Regions from separate parts of the Homo sapiens genome. Here region 1 is linked to region 2. Evidence: promoter capture Hi-C in human tissues and cell types (Jung and others, 2019). All regions are on one chromosome and are shown on one strand. Each heading gives the region's core, a stretch centred on a gene start or on the middle of the fragment in contact. The rest is flanking DNA. Distances are from core to core; before and after follow the strand shown. Region 1 has its middle 24 kb from the start of ZNF577. Region 2 holds the start of HAS1 (hyaluronan synthase 1).

Region 1 (5,606 bases), core at 2,676-5,175, 140 kb before region 2:
TTTTTATTTGAGACAGGTCTTGCTCTGTCACCCAGGTTGGAGTGCAGTGGTGCAATCTTGGCTCACTGCAGCCTCTGTCATAGTAGATGTTGAATCTGCCGAGCTGAAAGTGTGTCAGTTCCAGAAACATTTCTGTGCTGTTCATAGACACCTCCCATCAAGCCCAATTATAAGTGTTCAAGTCTTTGTCATTTCCCATAAACAGGCTCTTAAGCTACCAAACCAGATATCTTTAATTTTTTTTTTTTTTTAGATGGAGTCTTGCTCTGTCGCCAGGCTGGAGTGCAGTGGCGCCATCTCAGCTCACTGCAATCTCTGCCTCCCGAGTTCAAGCAATTCTCCTGCCTCAGCCTTCTGAGTAGCTGGGATTACATGCGTGTGCCACCACACCCAGCTAAGTTTTGTATTTTTAGTAGAGCTGGGGTTTTACCATGTTGGTCAGGATGGTCCCAATCTCCTGACCTCATGATCTGCCCGCCTCAGCCTCCCAAAGTGCTGGGATTACAAGTGTGAGCCACCGCACCCAGCCAGTGATATTTAATTTCAAACATGGAGAATAGAGGATAAAATGTGAGGTCAGTGCATTTCAGGTGAGTGAGAACCAACAAGATGGGAGACCTGGAAAGTAAAGGAGCTGACCATGAGGGTTGGACCCCTTCCAAATGTGTTTAACAGGGCAAAGACTTGGAAGGTGACTACAGATACCTAGATCATTGATGAGGCTCTCTTTTGTTTGGCGTTTCAAAGAAAATGTGCCTTTTTCTCTCTTTATATTGACTTAGATTCTCACAATCGACACATCATCACAGCACTGCCTTTTATCCTGGGGTAAGGATATTTGGCCTGATTTTTGTATTTCCTACAGACCTGAGTGAATCATATGAGAATGTATCAAAGCAACCTAGAAGGTGGGAGTGCTCACCACAGTGGTGTTCCTGTATATATGGTGTTAGAAATCTTTGGGAAGGCGCGGGCATGGTGGCTCACGTGTGTAATCCCAGCACTTTGGGAGGCCGAGGTGGGTGGATCACCTGAGGTCAGAAGTTCAAGACCAGCCTGGCCAACATGGCGAAACCCTGTCTCTACTAAAAATACAAAAATTAGCTGGGCATGGTGGCGAGTGCCCTGTAATCCCAGCTACTCCAGAGGTGCGGTTGGAGAATCACTTGAACCCTAGAGGCGAAGGTTGCAGTGAGCTGAGATTGCGCCATTGCACTCCAGCCTGGGTGACAAGAGCGAAACTCCGTCTCAAGAAAAAAAAAATCTTTGGGAAAGTTCATTGACTGTTGCATGCAGAATTAAAGAAGAATGAATCTGAAACAGAGTGACAGCACTTACATTTATGTGAAGAGCTGAGAAGACTTCATTTTATCTTGCTTCCCACAGATGTTGGTTCCTAAGACTTAAGTTGGCCTCTTTTCTGGGTACTTATTGTTTGAGCGTGATGGATGGACTTTTTCCATTCTCTGGGCATCTCCTTCTCCCAAAGCCTTCAGAGTTGGAGGGCGTAAGGGTGCTTCATCATTGGTAATTTCTTTTCTTTGTTCCCAGTGTGACCTCTTCGATTTCATGGACTTAACAATGCTATTTATATGTTGATGACTCACAGATTTCTCTCTACAGGCTAGATATTTCCTTATCCTCCTACATTTGCCTGGGAATTGCTTGGAGATCTAATAGCTAACTCAAACTTCAAGTCATCCTTGCTTCACCGTTTCACTCATCCCACAAATCCAGTCCATTTAGCAAGTTTAGACTTTACTTTCTCCTTATATCTCGAGGTCCTCTACTCCTTTCTCTAACAGTTATTTTCACTCAAGCTTCGATGTCCATTATCTCTTGCCAAAATTATGATAGTTTTCTCTAATATACTCTCAGTCCTTTACTCTTGTTTCTATTCTCCACATAATACCCTTAATGAATTTATTTTACTATTTTCATTTATGAAAATAAATGCGGGAGTCAGGGGCGGGAGTCAGGGGCAGGAGTCAGTGTTTCTAGCCCCTCACCTCCAAAATCCCTGAACATTAAAATAAACATCAGAAACATCTTGGTTCTTAAAAGACTTCAGATTTTGACAAAAGTGTTGCGGAAAGTAATTAAAGCTTCATATAAAAAGGTAAATCTTAGTTGGAGGATGGAAAGATCTAAATTATGGTCTAAAAAATGCTATATGATGTAGCAAATCTGTACTCATTCACAGGGTGCAAGCCTAAAAATATTCATGCCATAATATTTAAGACATGGTCAGTGTTAATTACTGATAAACATACACACAGGATGTTGCTTTTAAATTGGAAATCAGGACATGTCATCCTGCTCCCACTATCATTGGTAATGGCATCCTGTTACTGTTAGCACAAGATCCAAATTCTTTTCAGGATCCTCCTACAAGGGAGCATTCCCTGATTTCGGCCTAAACGTTTTTGTTTACTTATTAATGAAAAATGTTTTGGTATAACATACATATAATGTAATTATACAGCTAGGTAACTTTCTAGTCAGCACACTGTGCAACCAGCACCTAGATCAAGAATCTGAGTCCTGTGCAGAATGGCATTGGGTGAATATTACACTGTTTATCTCTTTTACATTCAGGCCATTATACTTAGTGTCCCTATGTATGTTTTCATCAATATCTTTATTTTTATTTTCTCCTTTTGAAAATGCTTGTCTCCAAATGGTCTAGATTTAATGAGATGTTCCAAAATGATACACAAAATTCTTGCACATTCTTTTTGCAAATTTCCCCAAAATATGATTTTACCAATTTGCTTTATTTTATCTATACACACACACCACACACAGGTACATATGGTTTTTCTGAACTCTACCCTAAAACCCAAGTGTGTATTTCATAGGAAGAAGAGCATTCTTTTGCATAATCAGAATACTGTGATCAAAATCAGAATATTGACATTGATATAGTATTATTATTTAAAATACAGAGCTTACTCAAATTTAACCATCTTACTAATATCTTTTTATGGTAAATGGGAAAAGAAGCCTTTTTCTGGACCTCTTCTTGTTATCTCACTTACTCTGTTGTGCGTACACTAGCTTTCATAACATCCAGAAGTCAGAGCTTGCTAATTATAACCAATTCTTTTTGGAAAGAAATCATATGGATGCAGTGAATGTGCAGTGAATACTTGTAAACTACTCATGACCATGCCTCAGAGAACTCATGCAGGAAACAAATCCCAGGAATCTCATGATTTTAGGAGAGCCCTTCCCAGTGAGTTAAAGCTCATTGCTCATCAGCAAACTCAAACAGGAGTGAGACCCTACTGATGCAATCAATGTCAAAAAGCCTTCATTACAAATTCAGGGCTTGTGTATCATCAGAAAACTCATCATAGAGAAGGGAAAGTCTGTACATGCAGCAAATGTGGAGAAGTTTTCCCTTGGAAGTCAGAACTCATTTTATGTCAAAGAAATCATTCAGGAGAGAGACCGTTCATTTGCAAAGTATGTGATAAAGGCTTTGTGGTTAGGACACATCTCACTGTACATCAGAGAGCTCACACAGGAGAGAAACCATATGCTTGCTCAGATTGTGAAAAAGCCTTCTCAAAAAAGGCTTTATTCATGATTCATCAGTGAATTCACACAGGAGAGATACCCTATTAATGCATTCAATGTCAAACAGCTTTGAAGACCAGATCTGAGCTCAGTTATCCTCAGAAAGTTCTTCATAGAAAAGGAAAATTCTATGGATGCAGTAAATGTGGGAAAGCTTTTCCTTGGAAGTCGAACCTCATTTTGCATCTCAGAACTCATTCAGGAGAGAGACCTTTCAGGTGCAAAGTCTATCATAAAGCCTTCATGGTTAGAACACAGCTAACTATACATCAGAGAACTCACACAGGAGAGAAACCATATGCTTGCTTGGATTATGAGAAAGCCTTCTTGAAAAAGGCTCAGCTTATGAAGCATCAGTGAATTCATACAGAAGAAAGACCCTATGGATGCAGTGAATGTCAAGAAGCTTTCATCTGGAAGTTGGATCTCAACAATCATAAGAAAACTCATCATGCAGTAAGGAAATCCCATGAATGCAGTGAATGTGGGAAGGTTTTATCCTCCAAAAAAAACTTTGTTATACATCAGAGAACCCATACAGGTGAGAAACCCTTCAAATGCAATGTATGTGATAAAGCCTTCACATCAAAGGGAAATCTCATTGTATATCAGAGAACTCATATAGGAAATAAATCATATGAATGCTCAGACTGTGATAGGGCCTTCTCCAGTAAGGTATATCTCATGACTCATCAGCCAATTCACACAGGAGAGAGACCCTATGATGCAATGAAGGTCAACAAGCTTTCACCCAAAAGACAGGTCTCAGTAAGCATCGAAAAACTTGCCATGCAAGAATGAAATCTTATGGATACAGTGGATGTGGGAAGGTTTTGTCCTGTAAGTCAACTCTCATTATATAACAGAGAACCTATACAGGTGAGAAACTCCTCAAATGTAGCATGTGTAATAAAGCCATCATAGTTAAATCCTGTCTCACTGTACATTAGAGAATTCATACAGGAGAGAAACCATATAAATGCAGTGATTGTAAGAAAGCATTCGCTACTTTGTAAACTCTCATTGGTCACCAGAGAACTCACACAGGAAAGAGGCCCTATAGATGCAGTGAATGTCAAAAAGCTTTACTCAGAAATCAGCTATTACTAATCATCAGAAACCCCAGCAGGAAGGAAGAAAGTCCATGCAGTGACTTGGAATATGAGAGAGCTTTTTTGATTAGTCACATCAGCTCAGACACAATAGAAGTTCCATGAATACTATGATTGTAATGGGCCCTTTTGGAACTCTTGTGGGAGAGAAACCTTATAGATGCAATGAATATTTTAAGCCTTCTTTTTTGAAGATATCCCTCGTTTACCGTAGAGATCTCACAAGAAGAATCATTGGCCAGGCGCATTGGCCCATGCCTGTTATCTCAGCACTTTGGGAGGCTGAAGCAGGCAGATCACTTGAGGTTGGGAGTTCGAGACCAGCCTGGCCAACATGATGAAACCCTGTCTCTACTAAAAATACAAAAAAAAAAAAAAACAAATAGCCAGGTGTGGTGTGCACACCTGTAATCCTAACTACTCAGGAGGCTGAGGCAGGAGAATCTCTTGAACCTAGGAGGTGGAGGTTGCAGTAAGCCGAGATTGCACCAGTGTACTCCAGCCTGGGTGACAGAGTGAGACTCTGTCTCAAAAAAAAAAAAAAAAAAAAAAAGAGAGAGTCAATTATGAGTGCAGTGATTGTCAAAAAAGTTTATTAGAAAACTAGAAGCTTTCCATTTAGTAGGCAGCACCAGTGGATGTAATGAAAATGATAAATCATTCTCAAATTATATTTGTTACACATTAGGGTATTCATTCAGGAGAAGGACCCTACAGATGGAGGGAATGCAGGAAAGCTAAGAAGAATCACACCTCATTGCAGGTAAAAATTAAAATCTGAAAGTCAAAACTCTTTGAATATCTTGTTTACGAGAGAAATCTCATAGATACAGTGAATGTGATTGTGATAAAGTCTTCCCAGTTAATGTTTATCTTTCTTGTTATAGCAAACTCATACAAGAGGAAACC
Region 2 (5,263 bases), core at 2,155-4,654:
ATTCTGTAAGCTGTACCCTGAGGTTTCCTGATGATGGCTGAAATGCTGGGAAGGCCACTGTGGACCCAGGGCAGGAACTGGAGAGCAGCCACCAGAGGAATGGGGGTTTCTAGGAGCCATGGGTGTTAGCGAGGGGTGCGGTGTCCCTACCTGTCCCTCCAACAACAGCCCCGGCCTGCTGTGGGAGTGTTCAGCTTCACTGCTCCCTGTCTTTCAGCACTTGTCTGGGCTGCTTCCAGCCTTGGTCATCTCTTCCTGCAAGAAATTCTGGGGGCTGGACATGTAGGTCTAAGGGAGAAGGAAGCTGGGAGTTGAGACTCCTGGGTCTGAGGGAGGAGGGGATGGGGGCCTGGGCCTGGGCTCCAGGGTCTGAGGGAGGAGGGGATGGGGGCCTGGACTCCTGGGTCTGAGGGAGGAGGAGATGGAGTCTGGACTCCTGGGTCTGAGGGAGGAGGGGATGGGGCCTGGACTCCTGGGTCTGAGGGAGGAGGGGATGGGGCCTGGACTCCTGGGTCTGAGGGAGGAGGGGATGGGGCCTGGACTCCTGGGTCTGAGGGAGGCGGGGCTGGCAGCCTGGACTCCTGGGTCTGAGGGAGGGGTGCTGGGGACCTGGACTTCTGGGTCTGAGGGAGGTGGGGCTGGGGGCCTGGACTCCTGGGTCTCAGGGAGGAGGGACTGGGGGTCTGGACCCTGGGTCTGAGGGATGAGGAACTCTGAACCTGTACTCCTGGGTCTGAAGGAGGAGGGGCTGGGTGTCTGGGATCCTGGGTCTGAGGGAGGAGGGACATGGGAACCTGGACTCCTGGGCCTGAGAGAGGAAGGGCTGGGGTCTGGACTCTCGGGTCTGAAGGAGGAGGGTGCTGGGAACCTGGACTCCTGGGTCTTAGAGGAGGGAACTGTTGAGGATTAAAGCCCTGGTTATCCTTCCTCAACCGCACTCTGGTTTTAGAAACATCTGGTTTTATACAGCTGCTCCACCCGAGCAGGGCGGGGTGGGGGCTGGGCAGCCAAATGCCCCACTTCTGGGGAGGAGCCTGCGCTGCCCCCTCCCACTGGGCGGAGGACTCACCCTCCCCTTCTGCTCTGGGCTGGCCTCAGATCATCTGAGGACCCATCATCCTGACACAGCCAGACACCAGGCAGCCCGGCTCCCGGCAACAGCGTCAGACACAGCCCGGCCCGCCCTGGTGGGTGGGAAGGGCGTTCGAGCTCCTTGGGAATGCACCTTCTCCCTGACAGGCCCAGGCAGAGGCTTGGCCTGGCGCAGCCTCCTCGGGGAAAACCCCAGGGTGTGAGGACTTGGTGTGAGGACTTGGTGTCTGGCAGGGGAGAGCTCCGGGACAGGCTGGAAGAGATGGAACTGCAGGGAGAGACGAAGATGTAGAAACAGAGAAATGGAGAGAAACTGAATGAGAGAGACAGAGACAGAGAAACACATACAGAGATAGAGCCTTACAAAGAGATAGGTGCGGTGGCTCACGCCTGTAATCCCAACACTTTGGAAGGCCAAGGCAGATGGATCACTTGAGGTCAGGAGTTGGAGACCAGCCTGGCCTACATAGTGAAACCCCATCTCTACTAAAAATACAAAAAATTAGCCAGGTGTGGTGGTGGGCGCTTGTAGTTCCAGCTACTCGGGAGGCTAAGGCAGGAGAATCGCTTGAACCCGGGAGGCGGAGGTTGCAGTGAGCCGAGCTCACGCCACTGCACTCCAGCCTAGGTGAGAGAGTGAGACTCCGTCTCAAAAAAAAAAAAAAAAAAAGAGAGAGATGGGGATGCAGAGAGACGGAAGGAGGATAGAGACAGAGCTAGAGAGGGAGGGAGATAGAGGGAAAAAGAGACAGAGAGAAAGAGACACACACACATGGACACACAGTGAGAAAGTCAGGGAGAGGCACTCAGAAAGAAAGAGAGCCACACAAGAAGAAAGTCAGGGAGACTTCAGAAATGCAAAGGGACAGACACTCCCAGGTAAAAGCAGAGAGAGAATGGCTGTGAGGGGGGATGAGGAGGAGAAACAGACAGGAATACACAGAGGCAGAGACCCAAATAGAGGGACCGAGAAACAGAGATGGGGTGACAGATACAAAATGACAGAGATTTGGGGAGGGACAGACGAGGAGAGAGAAGCACGGGGGAATTTCTCTCTGCTGCTCCATGTCTTTCAGCCTGTCCTGGAGCTGGCCCGTGCCAGACACCAAAGGTCGTTGGAGTCACAGGCAGGGAGAAAAGAACGAGGCAGCTACCGAGGCAGCTACCAAGGCCGAAAGTGAGACATCAATAGTTCACAGTAAGAGGAGCAGAGAGAAGAACAGAATTAGATACAGATAGTTTTTTTAAAAAATTCATGGAAAGAAGGGCATGTAAACAGACATTTATCACAGATCTGGTCCTGAGGGGCTGGGGTTCGGGCACCCCAGGTCCCGCATCTCTTTTCACCCTTCCTCTGACTCAGTTTCCCTGATGGGTGACAGCACTGACAGACCCCGGCTGGCTCCCCAGGGTCAGCTGACCGACAACTCTCTGTGTTCATCCCTGAGTCCCTGGGGATACAAATCCCAGCGCCCCAGCTCTCCACCCCAGACCCTGGTGCACACACGCAGACCCACGTCAGTTAGGCGCTGAATGGACAGATGTTCACTCACAGCTCCGGTTCCAGGCAGCCGTGCCTCGGGCCAGCGTACACACAGGCACACCCACAGCACGCACGTGTGTGAGTTTCGTTCCATCTGCCAGTTGCTGAGACATGTCCCTGGGGGGCCCAACCCAGAGATGGATTCTGGGGACAGGAGAGGCGGCTGTGGGGAGAAGCAGGGCGGGGGTGACTGGGGAAGGTGAGAAGGGGGAGGTGGGGAGAGCTTTAAAGCAAGAAGAGAAAGAAATGAGGGTGAGAGGAGGCAAGAGAAGTGGAGAGGAAGAAAGGGATGGAGAGAAAGACAGAAACTTGGAGAAATGTGGTAATGGGGAGAGAGATGAGGGTACCAACAAAGAGATGAGGAGAAATAGTGGGTTAGGGAGAAAGAAAGGGATGGAGGGAAATACAGGGATAGGGGATGGGGGGATGAGGGGAACCCCCAAAATGCAAGTGAGGTGGAAGAGAAAAATCAGGGGAGACAAGGGACGAGAGGGGGGAGGAAGAGAGAAGAAGACATAGAGGAGGGAGGGAGAGGAGGGGGAGTGATGGCAGAGAGGACTAGAGGAGGGGCGCGGGTAGACATGGGGGCCTGGGAAGGGAGGCCCGTCTGGCTGAGGGGGGTGGGAGTAATAGCGGGAAGCGGGTGGAGCTGCCCGGCTGGGCCGTGACCTCAGAGCCCCTGGCCCAGCTTAGCCTGACTGACGTCAGCGCTCGCTCCCGCCCCCGCCTGCGCTGGTCTTCAAATGACCCCCCTCCAGCTCTCTGGCCACAGAGAGGCTGGGAGAGCAAGCCGGAGAGAAGAGAGAGCCCGGCCAGACCCACTGCGATGAGACAGGTGTGTGTGTGTGTGTGTGTGTGTGTGTGTGTGTGTGTGTATACAGCCATGTGGGGAAAACTACTGCCATATGTGTGACCACGTGTGTTGGGGAACTGTGTGTGCATGATTTCATGTGTGTATCCATGTGCCTGACAGTGACCATATGTGTGTAGGGGACAGTGAGCATGTGAGGCTGAGTGTGCAGGTCTGTGTATACATTGCCCTGTGTGAGCGGCCATCCCAAGTACATGTAGGTGAGACGTGCCATGTCCGTATTTCTGTATCTGCGTATCTTGCTACAAACTTGTGTATGTCTATGTTCCCTGGGAGGCAGAGAGAAAGAGGGAGTGCGACAGTGAGCGAATGAAAGAGACTGAGTGAGAAAGAGAGTTGGATTTGCCTGTGGCACATGGGAATGGATTTCTGTTTCATGCGTTCAATAGCTATTAAGTTGAACCAAATGAAATCGCCGATACTGAGCCACTCTAAACTTGGAAGAATAGCAATTTCATCTGGTTCAGTATCAGCTTGACAGTCACCTACTATTTCTCTTGAAATCTTCCCTGTGCATCCCATTGCCCCAGACTCTCAGTTGGGGCTCTGTGTGTTTGTGGCCACGTGGACATCCTTTGCTGGTGTTGCTTTTTCCTGCTGAGGGGTGTGTGTCTGCAGGTTCACCTGTGTGGCCGTCGGTGGGGGTCACGGGATCGCTGTGTTTGGCCTGAGTGGGTGTCTCGGGTCATCCTGTAGAACACGAGTAATTTCATTCTGTGTGTCACTCATCATGTGTGAGTTCACGTGTGGGGGAGTGTGTCTACACGTGTGTTCATCTGTGTTTCTGGAATCAACTCTCTGGATCCCCAGCATGAATTGAGCCATCCCTAGGAACTCAGGCAAGGCCAGGTTTGAAGCAAAGGAAGAGAGAAGGGGGATTCGAGAAGAAAGAATAATGTTTAATGTTGAGAGTTTAAAAGCTGTACCTCAGTTTTGTCCTCTAGAAATGTAACGAAAACCACAATATCTAATTTAAAATTTTCTTGTGGCCACATTTGAAAAAGTAAAAACAAACAGGTGAAATTAATTTTAATAATATATTTTTATTTAACCCAGTGTGTCAGGGGCCAGCACATTTTTTTAAATAAAGGGCCCAATATTAAATATTTGAGGCTTTTGGGGGCCATCTGGTCTCTTTTGAAAGTACTCAACTTCGATGTGGTAAATGTAGAATCAGCCACAGATGATGTATAAACAAATGAATGTGGTTGTATGCAAATAAAACTTCCTTTAAGGACACTGAAATTTGAATTTCATATTTTTCATGCTCCACAAACTATTATTCTTCTTTTGGCTTTCAAAAACCATCTAAAAACACACACACAAATTCTTAGCCTGCAGGCTGCAGCAGGTCTTAGCATGCCGACCCCTGCTACATATAAGATATGATCATTTCAATATGTAATCAATACATAAATGTTAATGAGCTATTTTACTTTCTTTTCCCCAGACTTGGCCTTCAAAATCCAGTGTGTTCATAGCACTTCTCACTTAGATGCTACCTTTTCACTGGAAATACCTAATCTGTGTTTAGATTTTATAAGATTTACAATTATAAAAGGGGCATCGTAGATGCAACTTGTTCCAGACATATTTAAAATCTTTCCAATAACCGAATCAAGTAAGAGTTTTTAAATTTAAATGAATTAAAATTAAATAAAATTTAAAACTCAGTTCCTCGGTGATACTGGCTGCATTTCAAGTACTCGGTAGACACATGTGGCTGCTGACACCTGTGTTGGACACAAAGATCTACA

The links. Contacts are between HindIII fragments. The study calls those that stand out against the background at their distance.
Region 1: a contact is called between a fragment that was not itself captured here and the fragment with the promoter of HAS1 in region 2, in 2 of the 25 tissues and cell types used here (lymphoblastoid cells and mesenchymal stem cells).

What each region holds. Positions count from the first base shown.
Region 1 is chr19:51,860,758-51,866,363 of GRCh38, reverse strand. It overlaps a transcript of ZNF577 not described here and the pseudogene LOC100419706. Among named protein-coding and RNA genes, the nearest start is that of ZNF577, 24 kb to the left of the region's middle. The HindIII fragment of the contact is 3,923 bases long and covers 1,964-5,606 here.
Region 2 is chr19:51,722,132-51,727,394 of GRCh38, reverse strand. It overlaps HAS1 (hyaluronan synthase 1), which reads left to right and starts at 3,404. Exons shown (of 5, transcript NM_001297436.2): 1 at 3,404-3,470. The coding sequence starts at 3,462. The HindIII fragment of the contact is 37,877 bases long and covers 1-5,263 here.